Linked DNA regions of Homo sapiens: all the other regions are linked to region 3. The links are contacts of gene promoters, found by promoter capture Hi-C in blood cells and fetal thymus (Javierre and others, 2016). All regions are on one chromosome and are shown on one strand. Each heading gives the region's core, a stretch centred on a gene start or on the middle of the fragment in contact. The rest is flanking DNA. Distances are from core to core; before and after follow the strand shown.

Region 1 (2,700 bases), core at 201-2,700, 130 kb after region 3:
AATGGAGCTGGATGGTCTGTTAAAGAGATCCTAAGCCAAACACAAACCATATAATATGTTCATAGAAGGAAGTCAGTAGTTCTGAGGCCCTGATGTCTCTGGCAAGAAAACACTATTTTTACAGAGCTCTTGGGGAAAGGAAAAAATCAATACTGAGAGAGCTTGTTTAAAAGAATCACATCGTACGTGGATGATTCTCCAGCTGTGGGAAGCTCAAATGACTCCTAATGTTTTTTCAAATCAGCGGATATTTGTATTCTAAAAGCTTTAGGGATGTGTACACACAGAACCACAGAAAAGCAGGAAGGGACCTCCATCTTCATTTCACAGATAAGAAAGCCAAGGCCCAGAAACATGAAGAGTCTTATGCAAGGTTTCATAACCAGGCTCCACACAGGAAAAAGAACTCTAATTTATTACTGGGAAAAAACAGAAACAAACAATGAAGAAACAGTAGAAAGGTCTAATATGAAGTGACTTAACATTCTAATGCTTTGGTTATGTGAAATGTTTTCCTCATTATCTTTTATCTTACGCAAGAGGCTTCTTTTTCCATTTGATTTTGAAGATTTGACCCATCCAAACAATGAGCATCCTGGGTGATTTTAAATGAGCTCATAGGGTGAGGCCAAAATTGACAGGTGCTGTCAGCATTTCCTGGGCTCTGCAGCAGGACTCGGAGCAGAATGTTCTGGGTAGACACAGCGAACTGGGAGGGCTTGATGCCCCCAAAGCCAATCATGTCCATAGCAATGACTGTTACTTTCCAAGCTGGCAGCTTTGTATATTTCAAAATCTCAAAACGGTTTATCAACAATAATCTAAACATGACAGCCCTCCATGAAAGAAGGTGGCGACGTGCTCTGTCACCAGTTACAAAGCAGCTCTGAAGCAAGACCAAGCAGGGGCCTGGGATTTCTTCAACTTCCCACTGGTTATTCCGCATGCTCGTCACCGAACTCCTCTTGATGATCACTGGCCAAGTCAGTATGTGCCCACATTTGGAATATATGTGAAAAGAGCTGATTTGCTTTAATACTCTGGTCAGTCATGACTCCATTGGTCAAGCTAAAAGAAGTATTAGCAAAGGCCAAGTGGATTCATGATTTTAAACTTAAGTCAGCTTAGTCAACTAAGAAAGTGATTTAAAGTACTAGAAAACAATAAAAGGTGACCTTACCTTTAGTATTTTTTAAAAATGTGGCACACGCCTATAGTCTCAGCTACCAGGGAGGCTGAGGCAGGAGGGTCACTGGAGCCCAGAAGGTTGGGGCTGCAGGGAGCTGTGATTGTACCACTGCACTCCAGCCTCAGATGGCTGATGCTTGCCATCATCCCCCATGGGTGACTGAAGGTTTGGGTCACAACCTGAACTGCCCAGGATAGCTACATTAAGACCGAACTTCGCAGGTCCCTTTGCATGGCCCTAAACATACGTCGTCTCATTTACTATTCATACATGATCTCACTAAGTTCTCACAACAACCTTATAGATGAGGAAATTCAAAAAGCTCAAAGAGATTTGGTATCTTGCACAAAATTTCACAGCTGGGACAACCACGTCTATCTAAAGCCCAAACCAGGTCTATCTAAAGCCCAAACCAAGTCTATCTAAAGCCCAAACCCGGTCTATCTAAAGCCCAACCAGGTCTATCTAAAGCCCAAACCCCACAACAAGGTGCTTGCTAGACAACTTCCCCCCCGACCCGCCCCCGCCACCCTGCCCAAAAAAAGAATAAAAGCACTTAACTAGGCCTTCGTTAAAGGTAAGGCCTGTTTCTCAAGGAGACGCTAATGAAACATAGTGATCAAGCAAAGGACTCTTTATTTTTCATTTTTTTTTGAGACAGAGTCTCTGCTGCCCAGGCTGGAGTGCAGTGGTACAATCATAGTTCACTGCAGCCTTGACTTCCTGGGCTCCAGCAATCCTCCCAGCTCTGCCTCCCAAGTAGCTGGGACCACAGGTGTACACTACCATGCTCAGCTAATTAAAAAAATATATTTTTTTCTTTTTTACTTTTTGTAGAGACAGGGGTCTCACCGTGTTGCCCAGACTGGTCTTGAACTCCTGGGTTCAAGCAATCCTCCTGCCTCAGCCTCCCAAAGTGCTGGGATTACAGGTGTGAGCTACCACGCCTGGCCCAAAGAACTCTTTCAAAAAAGGAAACAAACAGTACCTTGCATTGGAAGAACAAACATCATGAAAAGCCATCAGTAGAAATGAGACCTCAACTTTTCCAGGTAAACTTTTCATTTGACATTTAGAAGTTACCCCTCTACACTTAAAATTGTTTCTTGTTGTGCTTTTTGTTTTGGGGGCTTGGGTAGAGTTGAATACAGATGGCGTTCAACTGGTACTACTATCTAAATGAGACACAGTTTGAAGACAGTAAGAATGATGAGTGCCTCCGGGACCTAGTTTAACCACCACAAGAAGAGACTGCAGGGCCCAGAGTGTCCCCAGAGCCCAGCTTCTGCGGCCTGGGCAGGAAGTATGTGCTCTGACTGACGCTCCACAGTGGGGCTGGGGGGTCAGCACTCTTTCTAGAGAGAGTCTACTGTAGCAGGAACTTTGACCAGAGAACAGCGCTCCACAACTAGCTTCAGTGGATCTTGTTTTTTCCTATTGCTATAGGAAGCTTGGAAAGAGGTTTCTTGAAAATGTGAATACTTAAATTCCTACTTCTTCACTGGATTAGA
Region 2 (2,700 bases), core at 8-2,507, 230 kb before region 3:
GGGAGCGGGCTGGGGGGCCCTCTCTGCCCGGGGGCCGCGGGCGTAACAGGTGGGCGAAGGTGCGCGGCCCTGGCGAGGGCTGCGGCGGGGTCCATGGACACCGGAGGAGGAAACGCCAAGGTTTTTCCAAAGGACAAGCGGCCCCGCGGTCCTCCTGGTCCTCTGCTCGCGCGCCAGCAAAGCAGCTGCGCTCTGCGGGCCGCCGGGACCACGCGGGAGGCCGGGCCGCTCCCAGCCTCGGGCCCCTCCCCAGCTCGCCCCAGCCCCGACCCTCGGCCGCGAGGCCCTCCCGGAGCGGCTGGCGAGCGGGGAGCGACCGCGCGGCCGGCAGCAACTGGTGTCTCCCCGGGACGCAGCTCCGCCCTTCCCGGGAACAAAAGCAGCCGCCCGCGCCGGAGCTCCGGGAGGGCGGGCTGGCAGGGAGGGGGCGCGGCGCCGGCTCCGAGGAACCCGGCCCCGGAAATGGGACACCCCCAGGGGGTGCCCCCGAACTTCCCTCCTGTCCGGCCTGGGTCGGGGGAGGGCTCGAGGCCGGTGGGCAGGGCGCGGAGAGCGCACCGAGTGCGCCAGGGGCCCGCAAGCCCGCGGCGGGGTTGTGAACCGAGGCAGAGCGCGAGCGCGCGAGGGGGACCGGCGGAGGGAAGCCGCGAGGCCGTGGGGGGGCCGAGCCCGAGCCAGGGGAGGGGGCGCGAAGTCGGCGCGTGGGAAACTTACTGCAGTCGTCCGACTCGTAGCCGTCGGCGTCCGGCTCGTCCTCCGGCGGCTTGGCTGGCGGCCGCGCGGGGCTGGGACCCGGGCTGGGGCCCGGGCTGGAGCCGTAGGCTCCGAAGAGCTGGTCCACATCCTCGTCGTCCTCGCGGGCGCCGTCGGAGGGGCTGCGGCGGCCGGCACCGGCCACAGCCGGGCGCGCGGGGGCGTCCGGGGGTGCAGCGGCTCGGGGCCCGGCGTCCGGGGGCAGGCCCCGCGGGAAGCGGGGGAAGTAGTCGGAGATCTGCTTGATGGGACGGATGGGGCCGGGGCACACGTCGATGGCCATATGCTCCTGGATGCTGATGGTCGCCTTCTCCCCGCGCCGCCGGAGGGTCATGCAGGCAGCGCCGCCCCGCCCCGGGCGCGGCCCGGCCCGGCGCGACCCCGGCCCGGGGGCGGCTCAGCAGGCCCGGCGGGGCGCGGCGGGGGCTGCGGGCATCGCCGGCCGCGCCCCCGGACGGCCCTGACTTGGCCGCTGCCCGCTCCGCTGCGGACGGCGCGAGCGAGTGCCAGAGGCCGGCAGGCAGGGGGCGGGCCCAGCCCGCGTCACCCGGCAGCAACCAAGCAGGGTGAGTGTGCGGGCTGCGCGGGCGGCGCGGAGCGGAGGGAGCCGCGCGGCGCCACACTCACTCGCACTCGCACTCACACCGGCGTGCACGCCGGCCCGGGACCCCGCGCGCGCACACTCGCGGCCAGGCAGGGCCGCCGGGCGCCTTCCGCTCATGCACGCCCGCGGCACAAGCTGGGAGTCAACCCGGCAGGGACCCGCAGGACGCGCACCCACACGTTCCCGCGCGTGCCAGCCCACGCTGGGCTCCGCTCGCTCTCTCGGGACACACGCAGGTGTGCAAGTGCACACATGCGTGTGCAGAGACACGTGGTGGAAGCATCCGCTCGCTCACACCGTAGGTCACACACGCAAACGTCTGCATGCGCACATGGTTGTTTTAGGAAGCTGTGACACAGTACACCCCCAATGCACAGGCGCGCACACCTGATGGAGCACACACACAGGTGATCAAGGGCACCCAGGGCACAGGCTTCCCTACCCCCAAGCACCCCTAACAAGATGCACAAACATGAGCCCATAGAAGTGATCAGGGGACCCTGGGCACAACTCCTTCTCTCCTCCCCCTCTAGCAGGACGTGGAGTCACACTCCTAGCATGTAGGGACAGGTTGCCTACACACGGGCAGGACATGTACACGCTCAACTGCACAAGGACACCGGGGCTCAGTCTGTGCACACATATTCTCAGGTCACATACAACACAGCACTCTAACCTCGGGTCAGTCCCTCACTTGGTCAGTGAGTACAGTCTGAAGGACCCCCCGGGGCAGGGTGGCTGAGAACCTGCACAGGGCCTGGTCAGGAGGGAGTGAGGGCAGGGCCTGGGCGGTGAGTGATGCAATAAGGCTGGGCGGCACGCTCCCCCCACCCCCACTCCTACTCTAGGCCTCCCACACGGTCAGATCACTAAACAAATCCCAGAGGGCCCAGCCCTGGCTGTCCGGCTTTCCGGGACCAGAGCTCTGTTGGGAACTGCTGCTGCTTGGACAGGTGTGTTCCCGGAAAGCCCTGGGCATGGATGGAATCCTGTTTACCCTCTGGTTTCCACTGATGTGTAAGACACTTAGCTTCTTAGTGGGTGCCTTTGGTGCATCTGAATGAGGGGCTCCAAGCCTCTCTTGTTCCCCCACCATAACCCCTGCAGAGTGATGGGGAGCAGAGGAAAGAGAGGCAAAGCCTTGGCCTGTGGCTTCCAGCTGCACAGTTCTGGCAGGCTATTTGACCTCTTTGAGCCTCGGTTTCCTCATCTATGAAGTGAGGCTATTTCCAACTGCACAGCCTTGTGGCAAGGCCCCATCCAGCACAGACAGGTAAGAGGTGCTCAGCTGGCTTTCCCTTCTCCCTTCCTTTGGAAAGACAAGACTCATGGTGAGAAGTGAT
Region 3 (2,700 bases), core at 182-2,681:
AGTCCTAGCTACTAGGGAGGCTGAGGCAGAAGAATCACTTGAACCTGAGAGGCAGAGGTTGCAGTGAGTCACGTTCACGCCACTGCATTCCAGCCTGGGCAACAGAGGAAGGCTCTGTCTCCCAAAAAAAAAAAAAGAGAGAGAAAGTCTTGCTTTGTTACCCAGGCTGGACAGCAGTGGTGCGATCTCGGCTCACTGCAGGCTCAAGTTCCTCCACAAGTGCCCCTCAGCGCAGCTGGTTAATTTTTTGTAGAGATGGGGTCTCACTACGTTGCCCAGAATGGGCTCAAGCGATCCACCCACCTTGACCTCCCAAAGTGTTGGGACTACGGGTGTCAGCCCTGCACAGAGCCCCACAAGAGTTTAGATCTTGATGTAAATTGTGATGAGGAAGCAATGGAGGACTTTTTGGCTTTTTATGTTTTGTTTTTCATCACTGGAGACTTTTAGCAAGAGAGTGAACGGTTTGGTTGTTTTTAAAAGTTTGTTCTAGCAGCTGTGCGGAAAAAGAGTTCGTGGGGAAGGTTTGAAAGCAGAGACCATTCAGGAGAGGACCCAGAAGTCCCAGTGCCAGACACGGCAGTCGGCCCCAGCCTGGGTAAGGGACAAGGGAGAGGGTAGGGGACACGGAAGCCCACCAGGTTTCCAGCCAGTCCAGCGGTTTTGTTCACTAAAGTGGAAAACCATGAAGAAGTAAGTTTGTTTTGGACACATTGGCTTTGAGAGTCCAGGGTAGATGTACGAGGCTGAAACTCAGGCAATAAAAATTGAGGGGAGAATACACAGCATTTAAAAAGGTACAGGAGGCCGAGCACGGAGGCTCATGCCTGTGATCCCAGCGATCTAGGAGGCCGAGGCGGGAAGATCGATGGAGCCCAGGAGTTCGAGACCAGCCTGAAACCAAAAATCAAAACTCTTAGCCAGGCGTGGGGATGGGAGGCCAAGGCAGGAGGATCGAGGCACGGGACTGGACGAGATGAGTGTCAGCCCAGGGATTTAAAATCTCTCTGCCCACCCTCCCCTTCCTGCGGTCAACTGTCCAGATTCCAACAGACAAAAGCAAGCATGGGCGAACCACCGTGCGCCGCGGTCCCCGACAGAAGCACGCATGCGCACACCTCTGTGTGCGGAGGTTTCCGACAGACGCACGCATGCGCACACTTCTATGCGCGGAGGTCTCCGCAGACAGAAGCACGCATGCGCACATCGCTGTGCCGGTATCGCCAACAGATGGAAGCACGCATGCGCGCACCGCTGCGTACCTAGCACTCCGACAGATGTACGCATGCGCACAACGCTCTGTTCTCGAGATCCCCGACAGAAGCACACATGCGCACACCGCTGTGTGCCAAGGTCGCCAAAAGACGGAAGCACGCATGCGCACACCGCGGTCCGTGGGGCACCGGGCGGAAGCGTCCTGACTGCGCAGGCGCAGCAGGGGTGGTCGCCATGGAGACGCGTGGCCCTGGCCTGGCGGTCCGCGCTGAGAGTCGCCGATTAGTCGGCATCGGGCCTCGGGCGCCCCCGGGGCGGGTTGGGTTGCAGCCCAGCGGGCGGCTGGACCGCCGCGGTGGGGCGGGGACAATGGGGTACAAGGACAACGACGGCGAGGAGGAGGAGCGGGAGGGCGGCGCCGCGGGCCCGCGGGGGTCTAGACTGCCCCCCATCACAGGCGGCGCCTCCGAGCTGGCCAAACGGAAGGTGAAGAAGAAAAAAAGGAAGAAGAAGACCAAGGGGTCTGGCAAGGGGGACGGTAAGAGGAGCAGCTAGCCCGGCTGCGTCAGCTCCGGTTCCCTGGAGACTCTTTGGGGACCCACCCCCCATTTACCCTTCAGACCGGAAACAGAAGCTCAGTGGTCCCGGACCGAGGTCCTCCTGCTCCCCACACATGCCCGTCAGCAGCACGTTGATGCCCCAGCCCCACCCGTGGAGACCATCCACCAACTCTGCGGTCCCTTAGCCCCACACAGAGACCCCTACAGATATCCACCATTCCTAAGAGCCTTCCAGCCCCACACAAAGACACCCTCTCAACTTCCTAATCCCTCAGCCAAAACTGGCAGTCTTAAACGTCTGCGCCTTCCCCACAGAGGCCCTCCTCACAAGACACTTTCCCCACCCCAAACACATTGATGCCACATGAAAGGCCCTCACTCTCATGCACAGAGAAGGGCAGACTCCTGCCTCCCCTCCTCCCACCCTCTTGCGTTAAGGCTGCCTGCCTGTGGATGCGCGGTAGACACCCACACCCACAGACGTGTGTATTAAAGGTCCTCGCTGCATGGGCTCCCCCTCGCACCCACCAAGGGGCAGCCTTGGACTGCACAAACCCCATGACACCAGTCACTGTGACATCCTCCTATAATCCCTGACACCCTCAACCACTCCCCGCTTCATATCAGTGTAACACCCACAGTGAAACTAAAGGGCGGGGGACACCCTCAACCACTCCCCCCACCTTCTATCAATGTAACACCAACAGTGAAACTAAAGGGCGGGACGCAGTGGCTCACACCTGTAATCCGAGCACTTTGGGAGGCCGAGGTGGGAGGATCACTTGAACCCAGGACTTCCAGGCTGCAGTGAGCTATGATCGCACCATTGCACTCCAGCCTGGGCAACAAGCAAGACCCTGTCTCTCAAAAAAACAAACAAGAAAACTAAAGCACAGATCCCCCTCATGCACACACATTCCTAGTC
Region 4 (2,700 bases), core at 27-2,526, 250 kb after region 3:
GGAAGGAAGGAAGGAAGGAACGAAGGAAGGAAGGAAGGAAGGCAGGCAGGCAGGCAGGCAGGCAGGCAGGCAGAAAGCTAATGGTGGCTCACACCTGTAATCCCAGCACTTCAGAGGCTGAGGCAGGAGGATTGCTTGAGCCCAGGAGTTCAAGACTAGCCTGGGGAACATGGCAAGACTCGGTCTCTGCAAAAAAAAAAGTTAGCCAGGCATGGTGGCGCACACCAGTAGTCTCAGCTACTTGGGAGGCTGAGGTGGGAAGATTACTTGAGCCTGGGAGGTCAAGGCTGCAGTGAACTGTGATCATGCCACTGCACTCCAGCCTGGTGACTGAGCGAGATCTTGTCTCAAAAAAACAAGCAAAAAGCTAATGGTGAGCCCAGCATTTCCACTGAAATAAAAACCTACAAGGACAGATGCTACACAATGAAAGTATTACAACACAGCTGCAGCTTCTGCTAGGAGGGGAAGCAACATGAGGGCAGTTGTGACATGTGGAGACCAGAAAGTTCCTGTGAGTGCCAGCAGGCCACAGACGTGTACAGACCAAATGCACTGGACCGTCCGTGAGTAAAGACTACCCACAGCTAAAGTACCTGTGAGTGCCAGCAGCCCACAGACGTGTATCGACCACATGCACTGGACCATCCGTGAGTAAAGACTACCTACAGCTAAAGTACCTGTGAGTGCCAGCAGCCCACAGACGTGTATAGACCACAGGCACTGGACCGTCCGTGAGTAAAGACTACCTACAGCTAAAGTGTCTGTGAGCGTGTCAGCAGGCCACGGATGTGTATAGACCACATGCACTGGACTGTCCGTGACTAAAGACTATGAATTCCTGAGGCAGTTATAGTTCTAGGCACGAGTCAGCATCTCCTTAATTCACTCCTTCAATCACTCAATGAGTATTTACTGAATGCCTCCCATATACCAGGCATGATTCTAGGCATTGGGAATCCAATGGTAAACAAGACAGTATGGTCTCTCTCTCTGTCCTCAAGGAATGAACTTACTTTGAGAAGTAAGGGGGAGGAGATCCTGGAAAAACAACAAAATAAAGAAACAAGATAATTCCTAAGTGTGGTGAATTGACAGGTGTGGTGAAGGACTTATGCAGTGATGAGAATAAGGGAGATGGTGGTCACAGAAGGTCTCCTGAGAAAGGGCACACAAATCGGGACCTGCAGGATGAGGAGGTGTGAGAATTTGTAGATTTGGAGTAAGATGATTTTTTTTTTCTTGAGATGGAGTCTCACTCTGTTGCCCAGGCTAGAGTTAAGTGGCGTGATCTCAGCTCACTGCAACCTCTGCCTCCCAGGTTCAAGCAATTCTCCTGCCTCAGCCTCCCGAGTAGCTGGGACTACAGGCACCTGCCACCACACCTGGCTAATTTTTTGTATTTTTAGTAGAGACGGGGTTTCACCGTGTTGGCCAGGATGGTCTCGATCTCCTGACCTCGTGATCTGCCCGCCTCGGCCTCCCAAAGTGCTGGGATTACAGACGTGAGCCGCCGCGCCCAGCCTGGAGTAAGAGGATTTTCAGCAGAGAGAAAAGCAAATGTGAAGATCCTGACAGAGAAAAGACCTCGGTGTTTTGGAGGTCCGAAAAGACAGACAGTAGGTGGTAGTGCAATATTGCAGCGGGAAGTGTCTGGAAATAATCTGGAGAGGTGGGCACGAGCCAGAGCACGGAGGCCTCAAAGCATAAGGATTCTGCTCTAAGTGCCAATGAGAAGCCACTGAAGGGTCTAAACAAGGGACAGATGTATGGCTTACTTGTATAAGACTGTCCTGGCTGCTGTGTGGCAAAGGGGCTGTGCAGGGGCAGGAGGGAAAGCGGGAGTGAAAGCTCTGTGAGAAGTTGCTGCAGTGTCCACGAGACGGTGGAGGCCTAGAAGAGGCAGCCGGTGCTGACGGGAAGACGCCGAGCGATTCAGGGTTTCCAGGAAGGTACAATGTGTAGGACTCACTGATGGACTGTGTGTGGGTGATGAGGGAGAGGGAGAACCAAGGATGACGCCCGGGTTTTGGTTGAAAAGCCAAGGCCAGGGTTCACTGTCTGAACCAGGGAATGCAGGAGGAGGACGGGCTTGACAGGCAGGTGTGTGTGGTGGTGGCGGGGCTGGAAGTGAAGAGTCCCATCTGCAATACGTTACGGGTGCCTGTGCTATGGCTGGAATGCATCCCCAAAGTTCATGTGTTGGAAACATAATCCCCAATGCAATGGTGTTGGCAGGTGGGGCCTTTACGAGGTGACCAGGTCATGAGGGGTTTGCCCTCACGAACAAATGAATGGCATTATCTCGGGAGTGGGTTCTTGATAAAAGGATCTGTTCAGCCACTTTCTCGTGCATGCACACACTTTCTTGCCTTCCAACTCTGCCATGGGACGACGCAGTGAGAAGGCCCTCGCCGCAGGACGACATGGTGAGAAGGCGCTCGCCGCGGGACGACGCAGTGAGAAAGCCCTCGCCGCGGGAAGATGCGGTAAGAAGCCCTTGCCTGATGTGGGCCCCTTGACCTTGGACTTCCCAGCCTCCAGAATTATAAGAAATCTCTTTTCTTTATAAATGATTCAGTCTGTACTATTCTGTTACAGTAACATAAAACAGACTAAGAAAACTGGTATCAAGAAGTGGGCTACTGCTATAGTAAATACCTGAAAACATGGCTTTGGAGCTGGGTGATGGACAGATGT

The links. Contacts are between HindIII fragments. The CHiCAGO score rates a contact against its expected background, and 5 or more counts as called.
Region 1: a contact is called between a fragment that was not itself captured here and the fragment with the promoter of LIAT1 in region 3, in 12 of 17 cell types (megakaryocytes, non-activated CD4 T cells, naive CD8 T cells and 9 more). The highest score is 12.9, in megakaryocytes.
Region 2: a contact is called between the fragment with the promoter of DOC2B here and the fragment with the promoter of LIAT1 in region 3, in 2 of 17 cell types (M2 macrophages and endothelial precursors). The highest score is 5.6, in M2 macrophages.
Region 4: a contact is called between a fragment that was not itself captured here and the fragment with the promoter of LIAT1 in region 3, in 14 of 17 cell types (M1 macrophages, M0 macrophages, M2 macrophages and 11 more). The highest score is 13.6, in M1 macrophages.

The regions. Positions count from the first base shown.
Region 1 is chr17:538,363-541,062 of GRCh38, forward strand. All of the region lies in intron 17 of VPS53 (VPS53 subunit of GARP complex), which reads right to left. It overlaps VPS53-AS1 (VPS53 antisense RNA 1), which reads left to right. Exons shown (of 3, transcript XR_007065570.1): 2 at 2,027-2,241. Among named protein-coding and RNA genes, the nearest start is that of VPS53-AS1, 17 kb to the left of the region's middle. The HindIII fragment of the contact is 2,374 bases long and covers 264-2,637 here.
Region 2 is chr17:180,393-183,092 of GRCh38, forward strand. It overlaps DOC2B (double C2 domain beta), which reads right to left and starts at 1,258. Exons shown (of 9, transcript NM_003585.5): 1 at 715-1,258. The coding sequence starts at 1,087. RefSeq lists enhancers at 1-180, 1,642-2,143. The HindIII fragment of the contact is 7,942 bases long and covers 1-2,700 here.
Region 3 is chr17:408,894-411,593 of GRCh38, forward strand. It overlaps LIAT1 (ligand of ATE1), which reads left to right and starts at 1,432. Exons shown (of 2, transcript NM_001013672.5): 1 at 1,432-1,753. The coding sequence starts at 1,450. The region is part of intron 2 of LOC105371430 (a long non-coding RNA gene); the gene reads right to left. RefSeq lists a silencer at 1,484-1,573. The HindIII fragment of the contact is 6,027 bases long and covers 1-2,700 here.
Region 4 is chr17:662,853-665,552 of GRCh38, forward strand. The region is part of intron 4 of VPS53 (VPS53 subunit of GARP complex); the gene reads right to left. Among named protein-coding and RNA genes, the nearest start is that of VPS53, 51 kb to the right of the region's middle. The HindIII fragment of the contact is 6,306 bases long and covers 1-2,700 here.